4 separate regions of the Homo sapiens genome follow, and all the other regions are linked to region 1. The links are contacts of gene promoters, found by promoter capture Hi-C in human tissues and cell types (Jung and others, 2019). All regions are on one chromosome and are shown on one strand. The core of a region is centred on a gene start or on the middle of the fragment in contact, and the rest is flanking DNA. Distances in the headings are between cores, read along the strand shown. Region 1 holds the start of JAK3 (Janus kinase 3). Region 2 has its middle 37 kb from the start of COLGALT1. Region 3 overlaps UNC13A (unc-13 homolog A). Region 4 holds the start of ARRDC2 (arrestin domain containing 2).

The links. Contacts are between HindIII fragments. The study calls those that stand out against the background at their distance.
Region 2: a contact is called between a fragment that was not itself captured here and the fragment with the promoter of JAK3 in region 1, in 1 of the 25 tissues and cell types used here (aorta).
Region 3: a contact is called between a fragment that was not itself captured here and the fragment with the promoter of JAK3 in region 1, in 1 of the 25 tissues and cell types used here (IMR-90 fibroblasts).
Region 4: the fragment with the promoter of ARRDC2 here is called in contact with the fragment with the promoter of JAK3 in region 1 in 2 of the 25 tissues and cell types used here (IMR-90 fibroblasts and lymphoblastoid cells).

What each region holds. Positions count from the first base shown.
Region 1 is chr19:17,846,573-17,849,426 of GRCh38, reverse strand. It overlaps JAK3 (Janus kinase 3), which reads left to right and starts at 1,445. Exons shown (of 24, transcript NM_000215.4): 1 at 1,445-1,481. The HindIII fragment of the contact is 13,300 bases long and covers 1-2,854 here.
Region 2 is chr19:17,591,225-17,594,078 of GRCh38, reverse strand. No RefSeq gene overlaps it. Among named protein-coding and RNA genes, the nearest start is that of COLGALT1, 37 kb to the right of the region's middle. The HindIII fragment of the contact is 4,571 bases long and covers 1-2,854 here.
Region 3 is chr19:17,652,899-17,655,752 of GRCh38, reverse strand. UNC13A (unc-13 homolog A) reads left to right here. Exons shown (of 44, transcript NM_001080421.3): 11 at 371-479. Among named protein-coding and RNA genes, the nearest start is that of UNC13A, 34 kb to the left of the region's middle. The HindIII fragment of the contact is 6,355 bases long and covers 1-2,854 here.
Region 4 is chr19:18,006,659-18,009,512 of GRCh38, reverse strand. It overlaps ARRDC2 (arrestin domain containing 2), which reads right to left and starts at 1,343. Exons shown (of 8, transcript NM_015683.2): 1 at 929-1,343; 2 at 736-802; 3 at 395-542. The coding sequence starts at 1,202. RefSeq lists an enhancer at 1,070-1,289. The HindIII fragment of the contact is 21,109 bases long and covers 158-2,854 here.

The DNA of each region.
Region 1 (2,854 bases), core at 196-2,695:
CTACTTCCGGGGCTCTGATCCTATTATCCTAAGAACACTGGCCCAAGTCTCTGCATTTGGATGCTGCCCGGGCCTTCTGCCTCTTCTATTTATAACAGCTCCTACTTCCAACTCTCCTGTGGCTCCAGATTATGCTCCAGGCAAAACCCACCCTTCTCCCAAAGACCCTGATCCCCCTGTCCCCCCACGATCTTGCCCCTGTTGACCGCCCTGCAGTCCCCTTCCCCCTCATCTCACCCCTGCCCCTGGCCTCCTGACTGCTCTTCAAGCTGCTAAGATCACTGCCCTCTCAAGGTCTTTGCCCATCCTGTGCCCTCCTCCTGGAGCACCCTTTCCCTGGCCAGCTCCCTGTCCTGCCTCGGGTCCAAGTTCCAGTCTGTGCCTGTCCTGACACCCTGGCTTTCTTTGTTGTCTGCGATGATTTGGCTCCTTCATTTGCTCATTGTCTCAGCGCCAGATCACAAGTTCCAAGAGGCCAGGCCGGATCCACCTGGTTTTTTAGGGCTGGGCCCAGGGCACCACAGGCAGAAATGGGTCATTATCTCTCCCTGAGTCTTTTCTTTTTTTTTTAAACGAAGTCCCGCTCTGTTGCCAGGCTGGAGTGCAGTGGCGCCATCTCGTCTCACTGTAACATCCGCCTCCTAGATTCAAGCAATCCTCCCACCTCAGCCTCCTGAGTAGCTAGGATTACAGGCATCACCAGGCCTGGCTAATTTTCCTGTTTTTAGTAGAGACAGGGTTTCATCATGTTGGCCAGGCTGGTCTCAAACTCCTGACTTCAAGTGATCCGCCCGCCTCAGCCTCCCAAAGTGCTGCGATTACAGGCCACCACGCCTGGCTAATTTTTGTATTTTTAGTAGAGACGGAGTTTCGCCATGTTGGCTAGGCTGGTCTCAAACTCCTGACCTCAAGTAATCGCCCGCCTCAGTCTCCCAAAGTGCTGGGATGACAGGCGTGAGCCACTGCGCCCAGCGTCTCCCTGAGTCTTAAGGGAGAAATACCTCAAAGAAGAACTTGACCTTCCTCTGGGGCAACTTCCCTGCTTCCCTCCTGGGCAAATCCAGCCAGGTTTCCTTCCCTGGGTGCAAAATTAGTTCCACTGGGTGCCCAACTCACACATGCTACAGATGGGTAAACTGAGGCAATAAGGGCCGGGCCAGAGCCCCACTTAACAAGTGGGTCTAGAGTCGGCTGAGCCCCTGGTGTGACCCAGACCCTTCTCTGTGCTATCATCAGTTCCTTTGGCTTAGGGGTCTCCAGCAGCCTGTCTGAACGGGGCGGCTGATGCAGAGGCTTCCGGAACTTTCTGCCCCTCCTTGCCCGCCTCCCCGCCCCCAGCTCCCGCAGGGCCCTGACTTTCGGTAAATGACAGTGGCTCAGGAAACCAAGGGGCCCACACAGGAAGGAGCCGAGTGGGACTTTCCTCTCGCTGCCTCCCGGCTCTGCCCGCCCTTCGAAAGTCCAGGGTCCCTGCCCGCTAGGTAAGAGCTGGCGATGCCGCAGGGCTCGGCCCAGACACTGGGGGAGGATGGTGGTGGCGGGGGATGGCTGGGCTGGGGCAGGGTGCTGCCAGGGCAAAGGCTAGCTCGCCTTCCAGGCCTCGGAGGAAAGCTGCGAGGCAGACGTGAGCCGAGACTCGCATCCTCCGATCGCTCGCTTCTCTGGGCTTCGGCTTTGACTAAGGCCGGGAGATGCCTGCCTTGCGGACCTGGAGGAGTCATTGCGCATGCGCGACGGGGGCTGCGGGGTTGGGGGTGGGGAGGAGGGATTGGGAAGGAGGGATTGGGGGGCGGAGTTCCCAGCCCCTACCCTCCAGGCCTTCCCGGTCCAGACACAGGGTACCCGACCATACCAGGATGCAGAACGTTGAGGATTATAAACAGGGGATGCCGAGGCGGGAGGATAGCTTGAGGCCAGGAGTTCAAGGCCAGCCTGGGCAACATAGCCAGACCTCCATTTCTACAAACATTTTTAAAAAACCAAAAAAACTATGGCGTTTTCTGGGACCAAACATCACCTCTGACTTTTCATTTTTTTTTGTTACAGTATTACAGAATAATAATATTCTGTTAAGATTTTTTTGTTGTTTTGGAGATGGGAGTCTTGCTATGTTGTTCAGGCAGGTCTCTAACCCCTGGCCTCAAGCTATCCTGCTGCCTCAGCCCCCTGAGTAGCTGGGATTGCAGTGGGGCGCCACTGCCACTGAAGCCTTATTTTAAACTCGACTGGGGCTGGGCACAGTGGCTCATGCCTTTAATCCCAACACTTTGGGAGGCTGAGGCCAGCGGATCACTGGAGGTCAGGAGTTCGAGATCAGCCTGGTCAACATGGTGAAACCCTATCTCTACTAAAAACACAAAAATTAGCCAGGTTTGGTGGCGGGTGCCTGTAATTCCAGCTACTCAGGAGGCTGAGGCAGGAGAATCGCTTGAACCTGGGAGGTGGAGTTTGCAGTGAGCCGAGATCATGCCACTGCACTCCAGCCTGGGAGACAGAACAAGAATCCGTCCTCCCCCCTACAAAATAAATAAATAAATAAAAAGGCTGGGCAATGTGGCTCACGTGTGTAATCACAGCACTTTGGGAGGCCAAGGCAGGCGAATCACCTGAGGCCAGGAGTTTGAGACCAGCCTGGCCAACATGGTGAAACTCCGTCTCTACTAAAAATACAAAAATTAGCTGGGCGCTGTGGTGCGCGCCTGTAATCCCAGCCACTTGGGAAGCTGAGGCATGAGAATCGCTTGAACCCAGGAGGCAGAGGCTACAGTGAGCCAAGATCGTGCGACTGCACTCCAGCCTGGGTGACAGTGCGAGACTCCGTCTCAAAAAAACAAACAAACAAACCAAAAAACTT
Region 2 (2,854 bases), core at 137-2,636, 260 kb after region 1:
CGCTTACTGGATTTGAAATTGGTGAGATGTTTCTTGGGCTGGTCGGTCTGAGGACCCGAGGTCGTAGGTGGATCTTTCTTATGGAACAAAGAACAGGAGGACAGGGGATTGATCTCCCAAGGAAGGTCCCCCGATCTGAGTCACGGCACCAAATTTCATGCGTGTCTGTGTGAAGAGACCACCAAACAGGCTTTGTGTGAGCAATAAAGCTTTTAATCACCTGGGTGCAGGTGGGCTGAGTCTGAAAAGAGAGTCCTTGAAGGGAGATAAGGGTGGGGCCATTTTATAGGATTTGGGTAGATAAAGGAAAATTACAGTCAAAGGGGGGTTGTTCTCTGGCGGGCAGAGTGGGGGTCACAAGGTGCTCAGTAGGGGAGCTTTTGAGCCAGGATGAGCCAGGAGAAGGAATTTCACAAGACAATGTCATCAGTTAAGGCAGGAACCGGCCATCTGGATGTGTACATGCAGGTCACAGGGGATATGATGGCTTAGCTTGGGCTCAGAGGCCTGACACTGGGTTCATGCCATTCTCCTGCCTCAGCCTCCCGAGTAGCTGGGACTACAGGCGCTCACCACCATGCCCAGCTAATTTTTTGTATTTTCAGTAGAGACAGGGTTTCACCGTGTTAGCCAGGATGGTCTCAGTCTCCTGACCTCGTGATCCACCCACCTTGGCTTCCCAAAGTGCTAGGATTATAGGCGTGAGCCACTGTGTCTGGCCTGGAGTAGCCATTCTTTATTCCTTTACTTTCCTAATAAACTTGCTTTCACTTACTCTATGGACTCACCCTGACTTCTTTCTTTTTTTTTTTTTTTTTTTTTTGAGACAGAGTCTGGCTCTGTTGCCCAGGCTGGAGCTCAGTGGCGCAATCTCGGCTCACTGCAAGCTCTGCCTCCTGGGTTCATGCCATTCTCCTGCCTCAGCCTCCCGAGTAGCTGGGACTACAGGTGCCCGCCACTACACCCGGCTAATTTTTTTGTATTTTTAGCAGAGACGGGGTTTCACTGCGTTAGCCAGGATGGTCTCAATCTCCTGACCTCGTGATCCGCCCACCTCAGCCTCCCAAAGTGCTGGGATTACAGGCGTGAGCCACCGCGCCCGGCCTCCCTGACTTCTTTCTTGCACAAGATCCAAGAACCCTCTCTTGGGGTCTTGATCAGGACCCCTTTCCGGGAACACATAGAGACAGGAAGCAGATTGGTGGTGCCAGGGGCTGGGGGAGAGGGAGTGGAGAGTGACTGCTGATAGAAACGAGATCTCCTTTTAGGGGGATGAAAATGTTCTGGAAATTGATAAAGGTGATGGTCGTGTGACATTGCAAATGTGCTAAATTCCACCAAATTGGACATTTTAATCTGGTTAATTTTATGTTGTCTGATTCTTACCTCAATTTAAAAATTTTTTTTTCCAGATTCCGTGTTCAGCCAAATAATTTTTGGGGTTTTGTTTGTTTGTTTTATTTGTTTGCTTGTTTTAAGAGGGAGACTCGCTCTATCGCCCAGGCTGGAGCACAGTGGCACGATCTCCGCTCACCACAACCTCTGCCTCCTGGGTTCAAGTGATTCTCCTGCCTCACCCTCCTGAGTACCTGTGATTACAGGTGTGTGCCACCACGCCCGACTAATTTTTGTATTTTTATTAGAGGCAGGGTTGCACCATGTTGGTCAGGCTGGTCTCGAACTCCTGACCTCAGGTGAGTCCCAAAGTGCTGGGATTACAGGCATGAGCCACGGTGCCCAGCCCTGCCAAATTTTTTTTAAAACAAGTCAGATTTGAGGCCAGGAGTGGTGGCTCACGCCCGTAATCCCAGCACTTTAAGAGGCCGGGGCGGGTGGATCACCTGAGGTCAGGAGTTCGAGACCAGCCTGGACAACATGGTGAAACCCCATCTTTACTAAAAATACAAAAATTAGCCGGGCATGGTGGCACACACCTGTAATCCCAGCTACTCCAGAGGCTAGGCAGGAGAATCGCTTGAATGCGGGAGGCAGAGGTTGCAGTGAGCCAAGATCGCGCCATTGCACTCCAGCCTGGGCGACAAGAGTGAAACTCCGTTTCAAAAAAAAAAAAAAGTCAGATGTCAGATTTGGCCCTCATCCAGTTTGCTAATCCCTAACCTGACCTCATTGTTCTTCAACTTATTCGCCTGCATCTCCTCACTTCTCTCAACCTCAGACTAAACTCTCACACTATTCTCACGCCCATCACTATCCTTCCACTGTCACCTGAAACACCCCCACCCCAATCACTGTCCCTCTCATCCTAACCCCATTTGGCTCTTGCCTTCTTCTCCCACCACCAGCCATCCTGGCAGAACCACCCGGGAACTTCAAAAAGAGGCATATTCCATTTCCTGGAGGGCATAACACAATTATGTCGTTGATGATCTGTCTGAGATTACATTTCATTATATAATTGATTATATTGCATGATAATTACTCTGCTCCAAATCCTGCAATTACATGTAATAGTGACGATGATTATGCATCCTACAGTTACACCGTCGTCCCTATCATCATTGTAACCTACGCTAATAAGCCATCCATGGCAGGTTGACATCAGCATCCGCCCCTGTCCCACCCCATTCCAAAGCCCCAGCTACACAGGCAGATCTCCCTGTGGCTGGGCAGACTCAGGGTGTCTGCCCAAGTTCACCTGCCAGATGCACCTCTGGGAGTCTGGAAAACAAAAGGGACTTGAGTCGTCTTGGTTTTCCTTCCCCTTCACTCTGCCAGCAGCCAGATGTGGAAACAGTTGAGGTTTTAGCATTCCTCTGTTCAGTGACAACCTCGGGGCGCTTTGGAAAGCCACTTCTTCAAGGTCATCTCTGTAGGACCAGACTCAGTCCTGATC
Region 3 (2,854 bases), core at 186-2,685, 190 kb after region 1:
AGGGATCAGAGGTGACAGGGCAGAGTAGGGAGGTCAAAGAGGGTTCAAGGGGCCGTGAAGGAGACTTAGAGTTTGTGATCTTAGTGGTTGCTGGGGTCGGAGAGGTCAAGATCCTGGGCAAATGGGGGGCCAGAGGGGCTGGGCTGGTGAAAAGGAAGCCGAGGAACAGTGAAGTGTCACAGAAGCATTGGGTGTGTGGGAAGGGGTGAGGGGCACTGAGGTGGGCCAGGGGACTCACGTGGGTCCTAATGTCTCTGAGGGGTCAGAGATACCATGGGGAGCTATGCATCACTTGCACAGCTGGAGGGTCAAGGGAAGTTCAGGGGTCACGGAGAGCCAGCCCAGAGCCTCATAGCGTTCCCTGCCTCAGTTTCAGGCCGAGAGAGGATGAGGAAGGCCAGGAGGGGCAGGACTCCATGTCCAGGGCCAAGGCCAACTGGCTGCGTGCCTTCAACAAGGTGCGGATGCAGCTGCAGGAGGTGAGTGACACGCCCAGCCATGCCCCTGCCACACTTAGCCAGGCCACGCCCAATGGCAGGCCCACACATGTTTTGGCCACACCCACACCTATATTGGCCACGCCCAACACCCCACCCGTACCCAAGCCTAGCCTGGGCATGCCCAGTGCAGTGCCCACACTGTGCCCATGCCCCAGCCACTCGAGCCCTTCCCTGGCCCCACCCTCATTCAGCCTGGCCTCACCCAATGTCACCGATGCCCCACCCACTCTGACCCTTCCTTAGCCACATACACACACAGCCCAGGGTATCCCCATGGCCCGTCCACACCAGCCTGGCTATGCTAACTCCCAAACCATGCACCAAGTCTGGCCCCACACATCCCCAGCCCAGCCTCCTTCCCAATGTCAGCCTGGGGTTTCTAGATCTAGAGGGAGGAGAGAAAACTAGGGCTGAAACTGGGCTGAAGTCATGGTTAGGGATCAAGGTCAGGGTTAGTTCAGCCATCAAAGATCAGAGGTCAGGGTTAGAATTGGTGTTAGGCAAAGGGGTCAGTGCTTAGGGCCAAATTGGAGGTCATTGTCAGGGTTAGGGAAAGGTCTGGGGCCGGCTCAGTAGGGGAGTAGGAATCAAGGGAAGCAATCAGCATCAGGGGCAAGCTGACTGTTTAGATGGGCAGCAGGGTTGAGGCCATTCGTTTATTCCTTCATTCAGCTCACCCTGGGCTGGGGACAGCTGTGTTGCTCTTCAGAGTTACCCTCCAAACTGCAGTGGGATTGGCAGGAGGAGATTCTAAACAGACTCCCAAAGGTTTAGACCATCAAATATCAGAGCCACAAAATTACCAAACGAAATTTCTTAACAGTTTTAAAATAGAAATCTATTTTTTGACTCAGCAGTACATACATATGGTTCTAAATGAGACAGGTGGAAGAGGACACAGTGAAAAGGCTGTTGGATAACTTCCACTAGGTCAAGAAATTAAATTGAAAAAATAGCAGCTACTATTGGAACTATGTGATATACAAGAAAAACAAACTATGGAACTAGTAATATGACAAGAAAAAGACACATGGAAGGCTCTCTGGGTTTCATAGGAAAAGCATAAAACTAATCCAAGGCAATCAGGAAAACTCCCTGGAGGAGATGACACTTAAGGAGAAGTGATGGCCGGGCGTGGTTGCTCAAGCCTGTAATCCCAGCACTTTGGGAGGCCGAGGTGGGTGGATCACGAGGTCAGGAGATCGAGACCATCCTGGCTAACATGGTGAAACCCCGTCTCTAGTGAAAGTACAAAAAAATTAGCCGGCTGTGGTTGCAGGCGCCTGTAGTCCCAGCTACTCGGGAGGCTGAGGCAGGAGAATGGCGTGAACCCGGGAAGCGGAGCTGGCAGTGAGCCGAGATCGCGCCACTGCACACCAGCCTGGGTGACAGAGCGAGACTCCATTTCAAAAAAAAAAAAAAAAAAAAAAAGAGAAGTGATATCCAAAATATTTATTTCAACAATATTTCAGGAGCTCATGCCTGTAATCCCAGCAATTTGGGAGGTCGAGGCGGGAGGCTCACTTGCACTCAGGAGTTTGAGACCAGCCTGGGCAACGTAGTGAGACCTCATCTCTAAAAGAAAAAAATAAAAAATATTTCAGAGCCGGATGCAGTGGCTCACGCCTGTAATCCCAGCACTTTGGGAGGCAGAGGTGGGTGGATCACCTGAGGTCAGGAGTTCGAGACCAGCCTGGCCAACATAGTGAAACCCCACCTCTACTAAAAATACAAAAAATTAATTGGGTGTGGTGGTGGGCACCTGTAATCCCAGCTACTAGGAAGGCTGAGGCAGGAGAATCGCTTGAACCCAGGAGGTGGAGGTTGCAGTGAGCTGAGATTGCGCCACTGCACTCCAGCCTGGGCAACAAAAGGGAAACTCCGTCTCAAACAAACAAACAAACAAAATATATATATATATATTTATTTCAGGAGCTGAGTGTGGTGGCTTGTGTGTGTGGTCCCAGCTACTCAGGAGGCTGAAGCAGGAAGATCACATGAGGCCAGGAGTTCAAGACCAGTCTGGGCAATATAGCAAGACCCTGTCTTTAAAAAAAAACCAAACACCCCCTCAATATTTCAGAACAGAAGAGTGCTGCCTGTGTTCCTCATAGGGCCACCCCTCCCCCCATGTTAACCCTTTAGTTACAAGATGGAGGGAAGGTAGGGGCTGTGGACCCCACGTCTATGCTGAGACCCGAATGATAAATAGAGGCTGGTTGGCTGCAGAAGGTGGGAAGAGGTACAAGCTGAAGTCACAACTCCTGGAAAGAGCCCGAGGCAAGAGAGCAGATGAACAAGTGAGACTATAGGGGGTTTAGGGAATAATCAATGAAGAGACTGAGGTCCATTGA
Region 4 (2,854 bases), core at 94-2,593, 160 kb before region 1:
AGCTGAGGGAGGACTTTGGGCAGGGCTTGGTTTCTTTTTAACAATCCAGGAACTATCCGTTAAATAGAGCCAGGAACACAACCCATCTTATAAAGCCAGAAATGAAATGTATAAGCCAAGTGTTTGGTGTGTAATTCACACTTGGTAAGCCCTAGCTCTGGTCTATTTCACAGAAGAGGCATCTGAGGCTCAGAGAGGGCTTCAAGACACTTGCCCAGAGTCACACGGCAAATGGGTGCAGATCCCAGTGGATTCCACACGCATTCCCACACCTGCCTCCCTCCCTGCCAGGGCCCACCTATGACCTCCATCTTATTGGTTGGTGTCGCCCAGCAGCCAGGCAGGCCCCTTCCTACAATACTCCCAACCTACCTCCCCAAGGGTGGCCACTCACCAGCAGGGCTGGCGTGTTGATGTCCACAGGCTCGATGACAGTGAACACCTTCCTTGCCCGGCGTGCTGGGACCCAGGGCCGGTGCAGGGTGGCCTTGATACAGTAGCGGACACTACCGTGTTTGCCCTCGAAGGATGTCACCAGGGTCCTAGGGTGGAGGGACGGGACTTCAGGGGACAAGATACAGAGACAAGCAGGCAGGGAGAAGGAGACACAGACACTCCGGGGGCCTCCCAGGGGGAGAGTCTTGGGGCTCAGAGGTGCCCAGATATCCAGTATTGGAGGTACCAATCTGGAAGGGGCTGCAGGCTTAGGGCAACCCTGCACCCCAGAGGACTTACGGGGGCAGCTGGAAGCTGAACAGGAACTCATGGCGCCCAGGAGGCAGCGTCGTGGTCTCCCCGGTATCTGCAGGTAGGAGAAAAAGGAGGCGACTGAGCGGTTGCGCTGGGGTCCCAGGGCTGACGGAGGTACCGCCGTCCAGGTGGTGGGAGGCACACAACTGGTGTTGGAGCAGGGGTCCTCCATCCGTACCTGGCGCCAGGAGCGTGGCGCGGTGGCTCACGACCTCCACGCGTTCACTGTAGCTCTGCGTGTAAGCCGTGCTCGAGCCCGCGCTGCGCGACTCGGTCCAGTGCACGTGGGCGCGGCCCCGCGCGCGCAGCCTCAGGGCACCCACACGCGCGGCGCTTGACAGCTCCAGCAGCACCCGGCCCGCCACGGCCTGGCCGCCGCTAAACACGGGCTCGACGCCCGCGGTCGCGCCGTCCAACTGCACCGAGAACGCTTTCACCTTGTCGAATAGCATCGCGTCCGGGGTGCGAACCCACGACAGGCGGAACCTGGCCTCGAACTCGCGAACCGGCAGCTCAAGATGCCGACGCTGCAGCCTCAGAACGCAAAATCGCCGTCAACGCGCAGGCGCGCTCACCAACCGGAGCAGAAAATCCCCGCGCCGTGCGTCGGCGCCGCTTTTATACGGCAGGGCGGGGGGGGGTGGGGTCACCGTCTCTTCCCCGCCCCGGGAAGGGACTCCACCAATAGCGCGACAAGGGGCGTGGCTCTGCCCAGGCGTGGAGCAAAATAACAAACGCCCCTGCTCACCGCCGGCTGCCCCCTTCCCTCGCGGACCCCGGGGAGAAACTGAAGCCCTTAGGCTGCCAGAGCTGGTCTCTCGCGGACCCCGGGGGTAAAGAGGAAAAAAAGAGGTGCAGAGGCAGGGCCCAGGCCTGAGGTCACCTAGCAGAGCCTTCAGCCTCTCGGCTTAATCACTCACCAGCCGCCCCTCGTTGACGTGACTCGAGGCATGTCCAGCCCGATTTGGGGCGGGGGACTCTCGCCCCAGTTGAGGGCCAGAGAGCCTATGACTGTTCCAGGCCTGTTTCCCCCGCTATGCAAAGGGAGAAGTGGAGGAGGTGGGTGGGACCGCCCTCCACACTGGTGCCTGCTGCACCCCTTTCCTGATTCAAGTCCCGCTTAGCTGGTGGCTCTGGGCAAATGACAACCTCTTGGAGCCTCAGTTTCCACCTCTGTAGAGCCGGGAGAAAGTAAAAATCAGTCCTGACCTCAGAAGGTTGTGCATGGATCATCGTGCAGCCCCAGCTGGACTCCTCCAAGAGCCTCGCTCCCGGGTCATCAACCTGCTCTTGACATACCGTCACTCGGTCGCGCCTCGGCGCATTCGCCCAGGAGCGGTACCTACGAAATGATGTTCCCTTCCCAATTTTCAGCCTCTGGCAAACCCTACCTTCCCCGCAGCCCTTGTGCCTGCTCCAGTCATCCTCAGCCCCCGTCCCGCCACAGAGCTGAATGCAGGGGACGCTCGGGCACCCCCAGGTCCACAGCTGCGGTGTGGCCACGGGACGGCGTGACCTCTCTCTGGGCTTCAGTTTCCCCAAAGAAAAGTCGCATGGAGTTTCTCCAGCGGGAGTTGCCTCTGCGTCGTCTGCGGGACGCTGGCGCCCTCTCGTGGCAGCGTAATGCGCTGCCGCTGAACCCATCCCCTGCCGTGACTGTCCGCCTCTGAGCCTGGCTCAGGAGACTTCCACCACCTCAGTGAGGTGTGTGGGTGGAGGGGGCGGTCATAAACAAACACGGTCACCCTCAGCCCGTGATGGGGATCGGAACAGGAACGACGGAGTTGGAGGCACAGTGATCAGCCTGGAAGGCTGCCTGGGAGGATGGGTCTTTGGAGTTGAAAGGAAGGTCTGGGACCTTAGGCCAGGTTTCAATGGATACTAGAGGGGAGACAGTAGGCCGTTAAGTCCGGGAGGAGAAGCGGGATTAGGTAACCCTGAAGGGACTACTGAGCCAGCGCCTCCCTCAATTCATTTCGCAGACGGACCCCAAAGGCCCAGAGATGGGTGGGGCTCTGCCCGAGGTCACACAGCACCTCCACTGGCCTCGCCCCTCCAGTGTCACTGTTTTTTCCTTAAATGTATAACAATTTAACAATTTTTA